Linked DNA regions of Homo sapiens: all the other regions are linked to region 4. The links are contacts of gene promoters, found by promoter capture Hi-C in blood cells and fetal thymus (Javierre and others, 2016). All regions are on one chromosome and are shown on one strand. Each heading gives the region's core, a stretch centred on a gene start or on the middle of the fragment in contact. The rest is flanking DNA. Distances are from core to core; before and after follow the strand shown. Region 1 overlaps ABRA (actin binding Rho activating protein). Region 2 overlaps OXR1 (oxidation resistance 1). Region 3 overlaps OXR1 (oxidation resistance 1). Region 4 holds the start of NUDCD1 (NudC domain containing 1). Region 5 overlaps OXR1 (oxidation resistance 1).

Region 1 (2,700 bases), core at 18-2,517, 2.6 Mb after region 4:
CATCACTACATAGTAGAAAGAGCATTGACCTTGGTCTAAGGCAGTCTTGCGTTTGAATCCTGCAACGTCACCTATTTAGGGCAGTATTTCACAGTTATAGACAGGCTCTGGAGCCAGCTTAACTTTGGTTCAAAGTCTAGTTCTACCACTTAACAGTTTTGTGACTTTAAGAAGTTACTTCATCTCTCTGGCCTCAGTTTCCTCATTTGTGAAGTAGGAATAGTAGTACCTATCTCAGGAAATGGTTGTGGGGAATATTAATAAAGCATTTAGAAGAATGCCAGTACATAGTGTTCAGTAAATGTTACTATTGCTAGCTAGTGTTTTCTATCTGTACAACTTCATATTTCGAAGTTTGTGGCATCATTGATACTAGTCTATATATGCTCTCACTGAAAAATCCACATATAAAAATCTATATATGATTAAATATTAAACTGCATGTGTAGTGGTAGAGTCCTTACCTTTGGGAAATAATTGGTTTCAGAGGTCCTCTAAGAACTAGATTCCTGAAAACACCTACATGATTTCAGTTCTAAAATGTTACCAATACTCAACTTAAAGATATACACATTTGCATTAACTTTGTGTGGGGAAGCTTTTTTCTTAAAATAGATTTTAATATCATTATAATGCTTAAAATCGTTATTCATAGAGAAAACAATCTAGAAGGATATGCACCAAACTAAGAACAACGGTGGGACTATGTATGATTTTTCTTCTTTCATTTCTAATTTTTTATATTGTGTTTATTTTTGTAGTGAAAAAATTATACTTACATTAAAGATGCATATGTGTGGGAAGTACAAAGGGAAAACAACACTCGGTGTTAACATATCTGAATCTTGATTGTTCACCCTCTCTCTACTTTAGGGTAAACAGATTTACAGAGAAACTCAACTGCAAAGCCCAACAGAAATATAGCCCAGTGGGCAACTTGAAAGGGAGATGGCAGCAGTGGGCTGATGAACACATACAATCCCAGAAGCTCAATCCTTTCAGTGAAGAGTTTGATTACGAGCTGGCCATGTCCACCCGCCTACACAAAGGAGATGAGGGCTATGGCCGCCCCAAAGAAGGAACCAAAACTGCTGAAAGGGCCAAGCGTGCTGAGGAGCACATCTACAGGGAAATGATGGACATGTGCTTCATTATCTGCACAATGGCTCGCCACAGACGAGATGGCAAGATCCAGGTTACTTTTGGAGATCTCTTTGACAGATACGTTCGTATTTCAGATAAAGTAGTGGGCATTCTCATGCGTGCCAGGAAACATGGACTGGTAGACTTTGAAGGAGAGATGCTATGGCAAGGCCGAGATGACCATGTTGTGATTACGCTACTCAAGTGAACCTTCAAAAACAAAAGCCAAATTTGGCCCACTATGGTCTTAATGCTAAATGCTCATGTAGGTAAAATGAAAATGCAAACTCTCTGTAATAAGTTAGTAAATATTAAACAATTTTTACATAAACGACTTTCTGGCATTCTATTTCTATCTAGAATGAGGAATTTTGGAGATTTTGAGAAGGCACAAAGCATTTCAGAAAGCACATAGAATGTTAATGTATAATAATAGTATTAATAGTTGAAATTCCACAGGGTGTTTTTGTTTTTGTTTTGAGACAGATTCTCTTTATGTCACCAAAGCTGGTCTTTTAACTCCTGGCCTCAAGTGATCCTCTCACCTCAGCCTCCCAAGTAGCTGGGATTATAGGCATGAGCAACAGCACCCAGCCACTTGTATATTTTAGGCAAAATATTTAGCTAGTCATTGTAGAAACTACTATAGATTTTTAATTAAACATTACATCTAAGAAGAATGCTGACTTGAGATAAATATCAGTAGAACATATAATAATGTGTCTTTATTTGGAAAAAAGAAAATACCATTAAGTTTGGTAAAACTAAACTTAAAATTTTTTCAGAAGCTTGACTTTGTATTATTGTTTATATCATAGCATCACTTACAAAACAAGCACATATATAAAAAGTTGTCAAGATGTTGCTGAAATTGTTGAAGTTCCTCTGTGGGCTTGGATTCTAACAGGTTTCCAGTAAGAGTTCACCTTCCTCTTGTTTGATTTCAGCAAATCACATAAAAACAGACACTTCCTGTCTTAGTACCAACAAAGGAAGGCACACCCTCACTAAAAGTAGAGCAGAGGTGAGAGATTCAGATTTACTTGCCTTTGTAGGACTTCTTGGAGAAGTTTATTGTTTCATTACATGTCAGCATATAACGAGTCAAGCTGCTTGCATTAACATCAATGCAATGATATGTATTTCTCCAACAATGGAGAAATACAGAAAATCTATGAAGTGGAATGTTCAGTATTAGAAAAATCCCATAGAATCATTGGTGAATTAAAAACAGATTTGAGACAGTTTAATGTTCCTCATACTGTAACAAAGAAAACTTTATGAAATGTTTAAGTCATAAAACTGCAATATTAGTTCTGCCAAAGTAAAAAATATACAATGATGATGGCAAGGAGAAAATCATTGGACATTAATGTGCCTATGTGATCTTAAAAACAAATGGAATGGAATGTGAGATTGCAATTCTTACTGGATTCAATGAAATTACTAAAATGCATTGATAGTATAGCACTTTGGTGTTAAATGTAAAAATTAATGTCTAAATATGATACCTCAAAATAATAGGTATTAGACTGCTATAAGAATTATATTTGTTTT
Region 2 (2,700 bases), core at 178-2,677, 2.6 Mb after region 4:
GTCAATAGGCATTCTGCCTCATCTTCACCTCAGGACTTGCCTGACAATTTGTTAAAATGCCATTAGAGCACTTCCCTTTTCAGTGAAAAGGCATAAAAAATCTGTATCAAAAAACAGAAAGTAATATTTATCACAGAACTGCAAAGCCCCACATCAAACAGTATCCTCACAACACTGGATATACTTATTGACTTCCTGTGTTGAATACCGGCAGAAATCAGGGGAAAGACTGTAATAAGTAGTTCCTTCTCAGTTATCAAATAAGGTTATCAGATCCCCAAAAGCAAGACTCATAATGCATATTTCTTTTATTTGGGTATCACACCAAAAACATAAGTTTGGTTCACTATGAAGAAAGGTTTCCTTAATCATTTTGTGCCTTGATTGTTTAAAAACATGCTTTCTTATCAATAGCAGCCATGTTGACGCAATTAATTCAGGCATAGCTCCTTTTTTTTTTTTTTGAGGTGGAGTCTCGCTCTGTCGCCCAGGCTGCAGTGCAGTGGCATGATCTTGGCTCACTGCACGCTCCACCTCCCAGGTTCACGCCATTCTCCTGCCTCAGCCTCCCGAGTAGCTACAACAAGAAGCGCCCGCCACCACGCCCGGCTAATTTTTTGTATTTTTAGTAGAGACGGGGTTTCACCATGTTAGCCAGGATGGTCTCGATCTCCTGACCTCGTGATCCACCTGTCTCGGCCTCCCAAAGTGCTGGGATTACAGGCGTGAGCCACCACGCCCGACCCACACCAAAGTACTCTTTATCATGTGGCATACAAAGTAACACTACAAAAAGAGGAAATTCAGTCCTTTACACATCGTGAGCAGTAAGAATAGTATTTCTCAGATCCTTTATCCAAATACTTAGGAACTGATTTATCATTAGGAACTTTTACTCCTGACCACCTTAAAATTTGGCTAAATTTTCTTTTTCTTAGTAAATATATGTTTCTGTCTGTCTTCAATAGGACTGGTCTTCAATGTTCATATTTGGAAATTAAAATTTTTAAAAATATTACGGAATTTTTCCTGCTATCCCAAGTGTACATTTTAGTAATTTGGGGTGCCATAGTTTATGAACTCTTTTAACATATTTTAGGGTACTGATATGAATAAGATCTGAATAGAGTTCATAAAGTTAAACAGTTGAAGTACTGGAAAAAATAATTCTGAAACAAGATTAAAAGGGAAGACAAACATTTTCACACTATCGCAGTAAATAGAAAATGTTTCTTGTTGTTATTGACTTGCATTGGAAGACAGAATAAAGATAAATGAATCCAATTTACAAAGATATGTTTCCTTAAGCTTATTGTAACAAATAACTTTCTAACAGAGCTGTCCTAAAATGTAAAGTATTGCCCTTTGAGGTAACAAATTCCCTTTCACTGAATATGTTTAAACAGAACAAAAAAAAATGTAAATGACAGACTGTGGACTATTAGTTAAAATGTCCAGAATCTATGGCTTTATGAAAATATTTACTACAACTGATGTAAGAACTTATTTCAGGAAATAGAGCAATCTTGAAAGATTAGAAGCTTTATACCTTAATTTTAATCTACGCCCAAGTTTATCCATTAATAAATATTGAGAATGAACTATATGCCTATACAATTCTTAGTTCTGAAGATATAATAGTGTATGAAATTGACAAATCCCTGCCTTATGACACTTACATAGGGAAAGGGAGAAAAAAGCAAACAATAAGTTTACCAAATTTATCATATACAAACTTCCCCAGTCAATGTATACATTTCTGGCTAGCAATATATTTCTGCTTGAGTAACAGTCAGGGATAATAAAGATCTTTTTTAAGTATCACTAAAGCAGAATAACAGTGAGTAGAGGTGTTAGTTTAAATCTAACTGATGCCCAAGTTGGTAGCCATAACAAGTTCATCCTAAATTCTAGGACACCTATTCTCCATTCCTTTGTAGAACAAAAAAATAAAAAACATCACGGCACATTCTGAAGTACTACTGTTTTATATAAGGGCTTTAGCCAAATTCTTCCTGTTTTAAAATAAATCATGTTAACATTTAAAATTACTCTTTCACTTAAATGAGTACTCATTAGTTTAACAAACATTTTTATTTTATTTATTTATTTTTTTTGAGATGGAGTCTCACTCTGTTGCCCAGGCTGGAGTGCAGTGGTGTGATCTTGGCTCACTGCAATCTCCGCCTCCCAGGTTCAAGTGATTCTCCTGCCTCAGCCTCCCGAGCAACTGGGACTACAGGCGTGTGCTACCACGTCCAGCTAATTTTTGTATTTTTAGTAGAGACAGGGTTTTACCATATTGGCCAGGCTGGTCTCAAACTCCTGACCTCGTGATCCACCCTAGTTTAACATTTTTTATTTGTTACCCTCGGCCTCCCTAGTTTAACAAACATTTTTTTAGGCACTTAGTATCCATGAGGCATAGACCTGCACTGCACAAGAGCAATATAATGTAAGATACATTACAATTGTAAATTTTCTAGACACCACATTAAAAAAGTGAAATTAATTGTATTAATATAGTTTATTTAACCTAATGTATTCAAAATATTATCACTTCAATATTAATCAGTATAAACAAACAAGATGTTTACATTCTTTTTTCTTTCCATTCTAAGTCATTAAAATCCAGTGTGTATTTTTTTTTTTTTTTTTTTTTTTTTTTTTTTGAGACGGAGTCTCGCTCTGTCGCCCAGG
Region 3 (2,700 bases), core at 36-2,535, 2.7 Mb after region 4:
CTAGGCAAATGGCTCTGATTTTATATTTTTATACTAAAAGAATATCATCAGTAACCTAAAAATAATTAGAACCAGATTAACAAAAACATTGGTTTGTAATGTTTATATTTTCTTAATTGTTAGATGAATTAAATGATTCCTATTTTAAGGGGACTATTCTTTGATTGCTTGTTTACATTGGCTAATGACTGAAGTTCTGTTTAATGTTCAATCTTCTCAATCTTTTTATTCCTGCCCCAGCTCCTATCTCTGTCAGTCATCCTATATACCAAGCTCTCTGAATTCAAGCTCACTTCTTTATCTTTTACTGAAGATGACATGAAATGGTTTTTCTACTAACAACCATCCCCTGGCATACTTCCTGATTCACTAAAACTATTATGAGTAGCCACAACATTGTGTTCATTACATTTTAAAATACTTTTTAACACAGATAAAATTATTGAATTTTAGGAAATAAAAGAAGCAGAACTGTAACATCCTGAGAAAACACAGAGACATTGAAGTATATGAGCACGACACATCTGCAAATCTTTAAGCAAAATGGTAAAAGTGAGAGCTGTGTTCTCATTATAAGGCTAGCTATGTTAATAAACTCAGAAAATAACAATTGGATCTTAAAAGAACAAAATGAAAAAATAATCTTCTCCAGTAACAAATTATATCTACCTGTCAACTATTTCATAAGATAGAAATGTTAGGGTTGGGCATCATAGCCCACACCCGTAATCTAAGCACGTTGGGAGGCTGAGGCCAGAGGATCGCTTGAGGCCAGAAGTCAGCACTCAAATTTCTGATATGATAAGCCAAACCACTGATGGAATCAATAAAGCAGACTGACAATCTGACACTAAACTAAGCAAACAGATTTTGTAAGTTTAGAAACTAAGGCATGAATCTATTATACAGTCACTACATCTGCATCTGCCAGTAAACCTAAAGCTTAACTTCATAGACAAATTTGATACCCTTAAAATTGACTCTTTTTTTATATAAAGCATTTGTGTGTTTTTTGCCACTAAAATGGTTTATGCTAACATTCAAATTCCTTATCATATGTGAGACTGCCACCTGTGTCCCAAATGACCACAAAGAGGAAGAATGTGGGTTATCGTTTGAATATAATCATGATCACAGCATTGAAGAGTATATGATAGAGATTTAATACGGCCTTTCAATAGACTGGGAGAGAGTCTAATATTAATTTTCTAAAAAGTTCCCCTCTAGAAGATACCAACCTTGGATATAATAATTACAAACCCTACTAAAAACCAAGTAATTTTCTTTCAATTCTGAAAATTGTCCAAAAGGTGTTAACTCCTTCACTCATCAGAAAAACACTGCATGGCAGTCAAGCCAAACAAGGACTCAGCAATAGCATCGTTAACAATTATAATTGAAACTTGGGTCACAATAAGTGACATCAACTTACCATAGAATTATTCCAGTTCTATTTTTAATCCTATTAAAGACAGTAATTACAATGGTATAATTACAGCCCCCAAATACTCCATACCTGGAATGTGGCAGCTTCTGGAGCTTTTGGATCAGTTTCACTCAGCTCATTGGACAAGTGCCAATTGGTATTACCAATGGTGCTTAAAGTTCTGAAAACTCAATAAAGCTTTAAAAACCTTGAGGAACAATAGCTCATCAGGACACCCAAAGAATAATGTTACATCATGAAGACAAACATTCTCATTTTCTTTCTTCTGCAGATTTCTTTTCCTGCCTGCACTTTCTTTGAGGTTGCAGTAGAGAGTGTGTGTCTACAGAAGGTACTGTATGCATAGCTATAAGGAGGTCTTACCCTCTGTCTTTTTATCTTTCTGGGCCCTTCTTTACCCTTGTTCTTCCTCTTCTCCTCTCTTAATTCTATAATGGGTCTTCACATATTGCTGTACCTTCTCATGTTACTTGAATAGAATTTTGATACTTAATCTGAAAAGCTGATAAGTGAAAACATTTGTTTTGTGGTATATTAAGTACTTTATTGAAATTATTAATTTCACATATTTTAAAGTTATATAGCTTTTAGCTAATTTTTTGGATAATTTCCCTATCTTTGTTTTTATTAAAGATAATAGGGCCAAGCGCGGTGGCTCATGCCTGTAATTCCAGCACTTTGGGAATCTGAGGTGAGCAGATCACCCTGAGGTCAGGAGTTTGAGACCAGCCTGGCCAACATAGCGAAAACCAATCTCTACTAAAAATTACAAAAATTAGTCAGGCTTGGTGGTGTGCACCTGTAATCCCAGCTACTTGGGAAACTGAGGCAGGAGAATCGTTTGAACTTGGGGGGCGGAGGTTGCAGTGAGCCGAGATCACGCCACTGCACTCTAGCCTGGGCAACAGAGTGAGACTCTGTCTCAAAAAAAGAAAAAAAAAAGATAATAGAGAAAAAAGAAGATGAACAGGCAAAATAATATTGGAAAAACCTAAATCTGTTGCCAGCACATTTCCAGCTTTAACCTGTAACCAGTAGTTAGGTAGTTTTTTGTTGTTGTTGTTCCTTCTGTTGGGGGAAAGTCTATAACTGGGGCTGTGTCAATACAAGATGAAATGAAGTACAATAAAAAGAGAGCCTACCTATAAGTTCATCCATCTCAGAGAAAGTGCTGGGCAGCAATGACAAATTTTTATCAATTGTCCAAATGTTTCAGCCATGATGCATGAACAGCAAACTCCTAAGTGCTGTAC
Region 4 (2,700 bases), core at 46-2,545:
CAAAAAAAAAAAAAAAAATTAATTAATCAAAAAAAATAAAATTACTAGATAAGGCTCTAAGTGTTTTGCTTTACTCTTCACTAGGATGAACCCACAATTACAACTGCTAAACCTAAGTGTGTGGATGTGTGTGTTTACACACACACTGCTGGTGGGATAAGAAGAAAACAAATCTCAAACTAATTCCTAACTTACAAAGTCCTCAATTGTCAGTAAAAACAGACAACCCAAACCAAAATGATGTTGAAAGAAGAGGAAAGTTAGGTTTTGAAAGCGTTAAAGCCACTTAAAAGTTTAAATTAAATAAAACTTGGCGTAAACTAACGTTTTCCCACCTAATCTGTCACTAACTTGAGATTACTTTTGTTGTCTTCCATCTGGCCTATTGAAAATTCAGACTGGCAATGAGTTACCAGAGTTGATTTTTTTTTTCTTTTTTGAGAGGAACAGGGAAAAGGAGAAGTTGAGTGAGAACTAGGAAATGCTTGCTTTTGTAATTGGAGGCTAACATTTTCAAAATAACTACAAGGTCTAGTCAGTACCACTCCTGGAATATTGAACTTGATCTCGTCTTGGCTCCTAAAATACGGATAGTGACCTTGGACAAGTCACTTAATTCTTAAAGGCCTCAGTTTTCTCACTGGTAAAACAAGGGCGCTAGGGTATCCCTCCCAGTTCAGACATTCTTAGGGAAAATAGAACAGGGCGGAGACAGCGGGAGAGGCGGGAGAGGAGGAGCCAGAAAACAAAGCGAGGACTGGTTTCAGGCCAACTCCGGTAGCACGCCCTGTCGGAGAGCCCTACAGGCCCGCGAGCGCGGGTCGGGGACGCTAACGAAAGACAGTACATCGAAAGGAGCCTGGGCTGGGCCCGGGTCCCGGCCCTGAGGACCACGGGCATAGCTCACCACCATCACCGCGGGCGAGGGCCGTCCCTTCCCAGCGACGAAATGACCCTTGCGCTGAGGACCGTTACCTACCACACTCTTCGGCTGCCCGGACTTAGACCCTCAGTAGCTCGGGCACCTAAGCACACAGAAAGCTAGAACACGCATTTCCGGGGCGGGGTCTCGCCACCCTGCCTATAATGTGAGAATTTAACCAGCGCGGGCCGCCTCCTGGTTGCTAGGGCCTCTGGGTAACAGAGTTCAGACCTTGCCGTCGCGCGCGCGTTAAGTACCAGGAGAACTACATAGCCCAGCATGCAACAGTCTCAACTTTTTCACGGACACTACATTTCCCAGAAGGCAGTTCGCACCGCAGTGTTTTCTGGGATGGGAACCACGCCGCTTCCCAGTCTCTGTGCGAGGCGTGAAGCGCGGACCTTTCAACAAGGGCTTTATTAATTCTCACGCTGCGGCCCTGGAAAGCGATGGAGGTGGCGGCTAATTGCTCCCTACGGGTGAAGAGACCTCTGTTGGATCCCCGCTTCGAGGGTTACAAGCTCTCTCTTGAGCCGCTGCCTTGTTACCAGCTGGAGCTTGACGCAGGTGGGAAGCGGCGGCGCCCTTCGTACTCCGTTCCTTTCCCCTTTCGGCTGCCTCCGGCCTGACCCTTCCCGCAATTTCTTTCTTTCTGACTGGCAAGCGAAGCCACCGTGGCGGCTTGCGTGGACTCACGGAGGCCGCTGCTTCTGGGGAATGATGCCCATCCCAGAACCCGGTGGGAGCCGCCTTCGCGCGCTCTTCGGTAACGGGACCCTGGGCCCCCTCCGTCAGCAGCCCAGCCTCTGAGGTCTGAGGTCTGAGGGCTGGCGTGCGGGTAGTGCCTGGGGCTCTGGCTGCTGTGTGTCCACAGCCTGGCTTCTGTTTCGGGGGACGCTGAGAACATTCCTTCCTCCTGGAGCATCGCTTGTGAACGTGTGCGTTGAGAAACCACACCTCCTTGGAGGACCCCCAGTTCCTGTTTCCTCTGACCGAGAGCCGTTTCTTAGAAGAGAAACTACATTCCAGTCATAGCATTTTTAATTACTCAGTTCCTGGCACATTAAGAACTCTGGTAGAGAACATCTCTAGAAGATAGTGAGGAAAAGTGGATTTACTCCCACACTGCTACTCCTTGCTTTATCTGTAGCTGGTAGAATATCCTTACTCTTGTTTTTACAACTTAACGGCATTTTCGTTATGATAGAGCCCAGAGATCTGCATTTTAAAATTCACACCCCTGCTGATTCTGATGCATGTTTTCAGAGATCACACTTTGAGAAATAGTGATCTACAGTTAATTATAATAACAGACATTAAAGTATAAAATAAGTTTATGCTAATTGATTTATTAAATTCAGAAATATTTACCGAGTACCTGTTTTGTGTTACGTCCTGATAATATCAAAATGAACAAGACACCTTCCGTAACAAAAGAGGACTATTAGCTAGTTAGGAAGAAAATTGTAAACAGATAATTGTAAAACAATATGGGAAGGCAGTGATAGGGATATGTACAAAATACAATGGTAGTACTTGAATATCTTTCCTAAACTAGTCTGGGGATCTGGGAAGGCGTCTTGGAGGAGTTAATATCTAAGTTGAGCTTTGAAGGGTAGGTTAAGAGTTGACTAGGATGAGAGAGGATAAGCTTGATTTTTCTTTTTATTTTTTTCCTTTTCCTCTTTGCCACCGTGTTTCTTCCAGTCACCCCATGTCAGTAGATGGTATCACCATGTTTAGTTAGTGCATTAGAAAGTGAAGCCAAAATTCAGTGT
Region 5 (2,700 bases), core at 114-2,613, 2.7 Mb after region 4:
TGCAGACTGCGTAAGTGACAGAAGAAATGGGCTTCCCTACATAACTTCATATTTGTGACAGTTAACACCAGCAGTTTTCAAATCTGTCAAACTAATATAATGGTTTCTAAATTAGTCATGGTGATAGACTATATTATTGTTACTAAGCCTGTATTCCTTCCTGTTGAGGAATATAAAATATACCTCACCATCCTATTGATGTCAGACATGGCCAACTTGCTTTGCCCAATGAACCATATATGTCTTCCAGGTGGAAGTGTTTGGAGCCAAAATTGTACTTCTTAGCTCTCTTTTCTATCTCAAAACCAGAGATCTTCCATATAGTGGCTGCTCCATCAACATGTATTCCAGAAGAAAGGTGTAATTCCTAAAAGATTATTCCACATAGACACATGTGGGCACATGAGTCAGGCTATTCCCATTTCTACTCTTAGTTAAATTATTATGCTTGGGAGCTTAAAAAATTATTCAACAATTCATGCATAAAAAGCAAATCATCTACTAGGGGAAATGGAAAAGAATCTGGCTGGCTTGCATGAGACTTCTCTACTGAAACATTACTCAGTGCTATAAGACTGAAATTATGCCAATTGTATCAAAAACTCCAGAATCAAGGAGGACATTCTAAAAGGTTACTAGAGAATATAGAACAATAATAAGTTATAAAAAAGTGGTTGAAAAACTAAGTATGAATGTTACAAACATGGACAATGTAAAAATAGTAAAATGAGTAAATATTAGGATGTGAGGAGGAGAAAAATGAGAAATGAAACTGCTAATGTCATACCAAAGCATGGTTAAATATATCCCACCTAAAACTGAAACAAGATTGTAATAACAGTATCTGTAATTTTTTTTCTTTTTTTTTTTTTTAGAATTTGCTTAAATTTAGACACACCCCTTAGGAATTAACCTCTTGTGGTGAATAAGTATTATCTTTCATTCTGTCACTCCCTCCTTCTAACCACCCATCCATCCTTCTATATGTACATACACATAGAAGTGATGTACATTACTTGGCAGTAATGCCTACCCAAATATTAACAGTATCTCTGGGTGACTGGATTAGAGGTGATTTTTAAAGTTCAGTATTTGCAACATATGACTTATTTATATATAGTATATATCAGGTTTATTTTAAAAATTAATTTCGTATAAAAGACTGGAAGCAAATATTCCACAATATTAATGGCTCTTAATTGTGGCATGTGAAAAAAGAATGATCATAATTCCAGTAGTTTATTTATTCCACAAGGACCTTGCCACACAGTCATTTTATCTTCAGCATCTTTCTCTCAGCATACAAACATGTCTTCCTTTTAGGAACTTTTCATTGTAAGTCACCTCAACTTTCCTAAGGTCTCAATACTATCCAGAGGTTGGCAGAAAACTTAAACATGCATTTCTTTTATTAACTTGCATCATAAAATAGGTGCATGCCCCAAGTACTTGTAAAGAAAAATAAATAAATAATAACCTGCTAAATTCAGCAAGAGTTTGATTGAGAGAAATATCATTAAGGAAAACAGAATGATGTAGAGTCCTTCACATCCTAAGTCAGTGGTTTTTAACCCTAGTTACATATTAGAATTCCGTAAGAAACTGTAAGTGGAGATCTTAAACAGAGATTTCAAGATCAAATCTTTGATTATAATCAGATCTTGGCATCAAAATTTTTTCATGGCTACCCAGGGAATTCTAATGTGTACCCTGCATTGGGACTCATTGCTATCAATGCTGCCCAATAAAACTTTCTGCAATGGTAAAAATGTTTTATATCTGCCTTGTATAATATGGTAGCCACTAGCCATCTGTCTTGTGAGTACTTGAAATGTCTCTAGTGAGACTGAAAACTGAATTTAAAGTTTTACTTAATTAAATTAATTTACATTAAAATAGCTACATGTGCCTAGTCACAAAGATTATTTGCATAGCCAAATTTTAGTCAGGCTGCTGAACCTTCTCCTATGCCAATCTGTTCACTTCCTTATAAAACCGAGTTTCAGCAAGAATCATGTTAAGGTCAGTGTAGCAGGAACCCCCACCCCGATCCTGGATATCTGATTACCTTCCGTATCTGATCAGTTTTCTCATCCTCCACTGTCCAGGTGAAGTCTGATTACTCTGGCCTGCCTTCAGCAAGAATCCTGGTAGGTCAGTTTCACCATAATACCCCTTATTCCTGACGTTACCTCTTAGCAATTGTCCATCCATCTATCCTTACTCTACTCCTTGGCTAGAAATTCCCACTTGCCCATTTTGTATTTGGAGTTGAGCCCAATCTCTCTCCTCAACTACAAAATCTCATTGCCACAGTCCCTATCCCTATTGCAATGGTCCTGAATAAAGTCTGTCTTATTGTGCTTTAGGAAGTATTATCAAATAATTTTTCCTTTAACACTAGTTGCTACCATATTAGATAGAGCAAATACAGAATCCTGAATCCAATTTTCTCAATCCAGTTCCTCATTTGCATTAGCTGCAATTCAGATACTCAATAGCCATATTTGCCTAGTGGCTACCATACTGGCCATCACAGATACAGACCATTTTCATCACCTCAAAAAATTCTATTGAGTAGTACTCTCAAAAAAATCCAAAACAGAGAGTCGTAACTATCTAAAATCTATAGTTTAAAATGTAAAACCTACCTCTCAGTTAAGATGGACTGTTAGATAACTGCATATTTGGATTAATTGT

The links. The method cuts DNA at HindIII sites, captures the fragments that hold promoters and counts their contacts. A CHiCAGO score of 5 or more calls a contact.
Region 1: a fragment that was not itself captured here is called in contact with the fragment with the promoter of NUDCD1 in region 4 in 1 of 17 cell types (total CD4 T cells); the score reaches 5.4 in total CD4 T cells.
Region 2: a fragment that was not itself captured here is called in contact with the fragment with the promoter of NUDCD1 in region 4 in 1 of 17 cell types (non-activated CD4 T cells); the score reaches 5.5 in non-activated CD4 T cells.
Region 3: a contact is called between a fragment that was not itself captured here and the fragment with the promoter of NUDCD1 in region 4, in 1 of 17 cell types (activated CD4 T cells). The highest score is 7.9, in activated CD4 T cells.
Region 5: a fragment that was not itself captured here is called in contact with the fragment with the promoter of NUDCD1 in region 4 in 2 of 17 cell types (total CD8 T cells and non-activated CD4 T cells); the score reaches 9.3 in total CD8 T cells.

What each region holds. Positions count from the first base shown.
Region 1 is chr8:106,759,688-106,762,387 of GRCh38, reverse strand. ABRA (actin binding Rho activating protein) reads left to right here. Exons shown (of 2, transcript NM_139166.5): 2 at 874-2,700. The coding sequence ends at 1,351. Among named protein-coding and RNA genes, the nearest start is that of ABRA, 9.2 kb to the left of the region's middle. The HindIII fragment of the contact is 1,333 bases long and covers 601-1,933 here.
Region 2 is chr8:106,716,603-106,719,302 of GRCh38, reverse strand. The region is part of intron 11 of OXR1 (oxidation resistance 1); the gene reads right to left. Among named protein-coding and RNA genes, the nearest start is that of ABRA, 52 kb to the left of the region's middle. The HindIII fragment of the contact is 233 bases long and covers 1,311-1,543 here.
Region 3 is chr8:106,645,795-106,648,494 of GRCh38, reverse strand. All of the region lies in intron 3 of OXR1 (oxidation resistance 1), which reads right to left. The region is part of intron 1 of OXR1-AS1 (OXR1 antisense RNA 1); the gene reads left to right. Among named protein-coding and RNA genes, the nearest start is that of OXR1-AS1, 11 kb to the left of the region's middle. The HindIII fragment of the contact is 682 bases long and covers 945-1,626 here.
Region 4 is chr8:109,332,682-109,335,381 of GRCh38, reverse strand. It overlaps NUDCD1 (NudC domain containing 1), which reads left to right and starts at 1,295. Exons shown (of 10, transcript NM_032869.4): 1 at 1,295-1,489. The coding sequence starts at 1,372. It overlaps ENY2 (ENY2 transcription and export complex 2 subunit), which reads right to left and starts at 1,035. Exons shown (of 5, transcript NM_020189.6): 1 at 908-1,035. The coding sequence starts at 913. RefSeq lists enhancers at 754-1,003, 269-1,191, 1,374-1,423, 1,554-1,603. The HindIII fragment of the contact is 6,990 bases long and covers 1-2,575 here.
Region 5 is chr8:106,666,140-106,668,839 of GRCh38, reverse strand. All of the region lies in intron 3 of OXR1 (oxidation resistance 1), which reads right to left. Among named protein-coding and RNA genes, the nearest start is that of OXR1-AS1, 9.8 kb to the right of the region's middle. The HindIII fragment of the contact is 2,952 bases long and covers 1-2,700 here.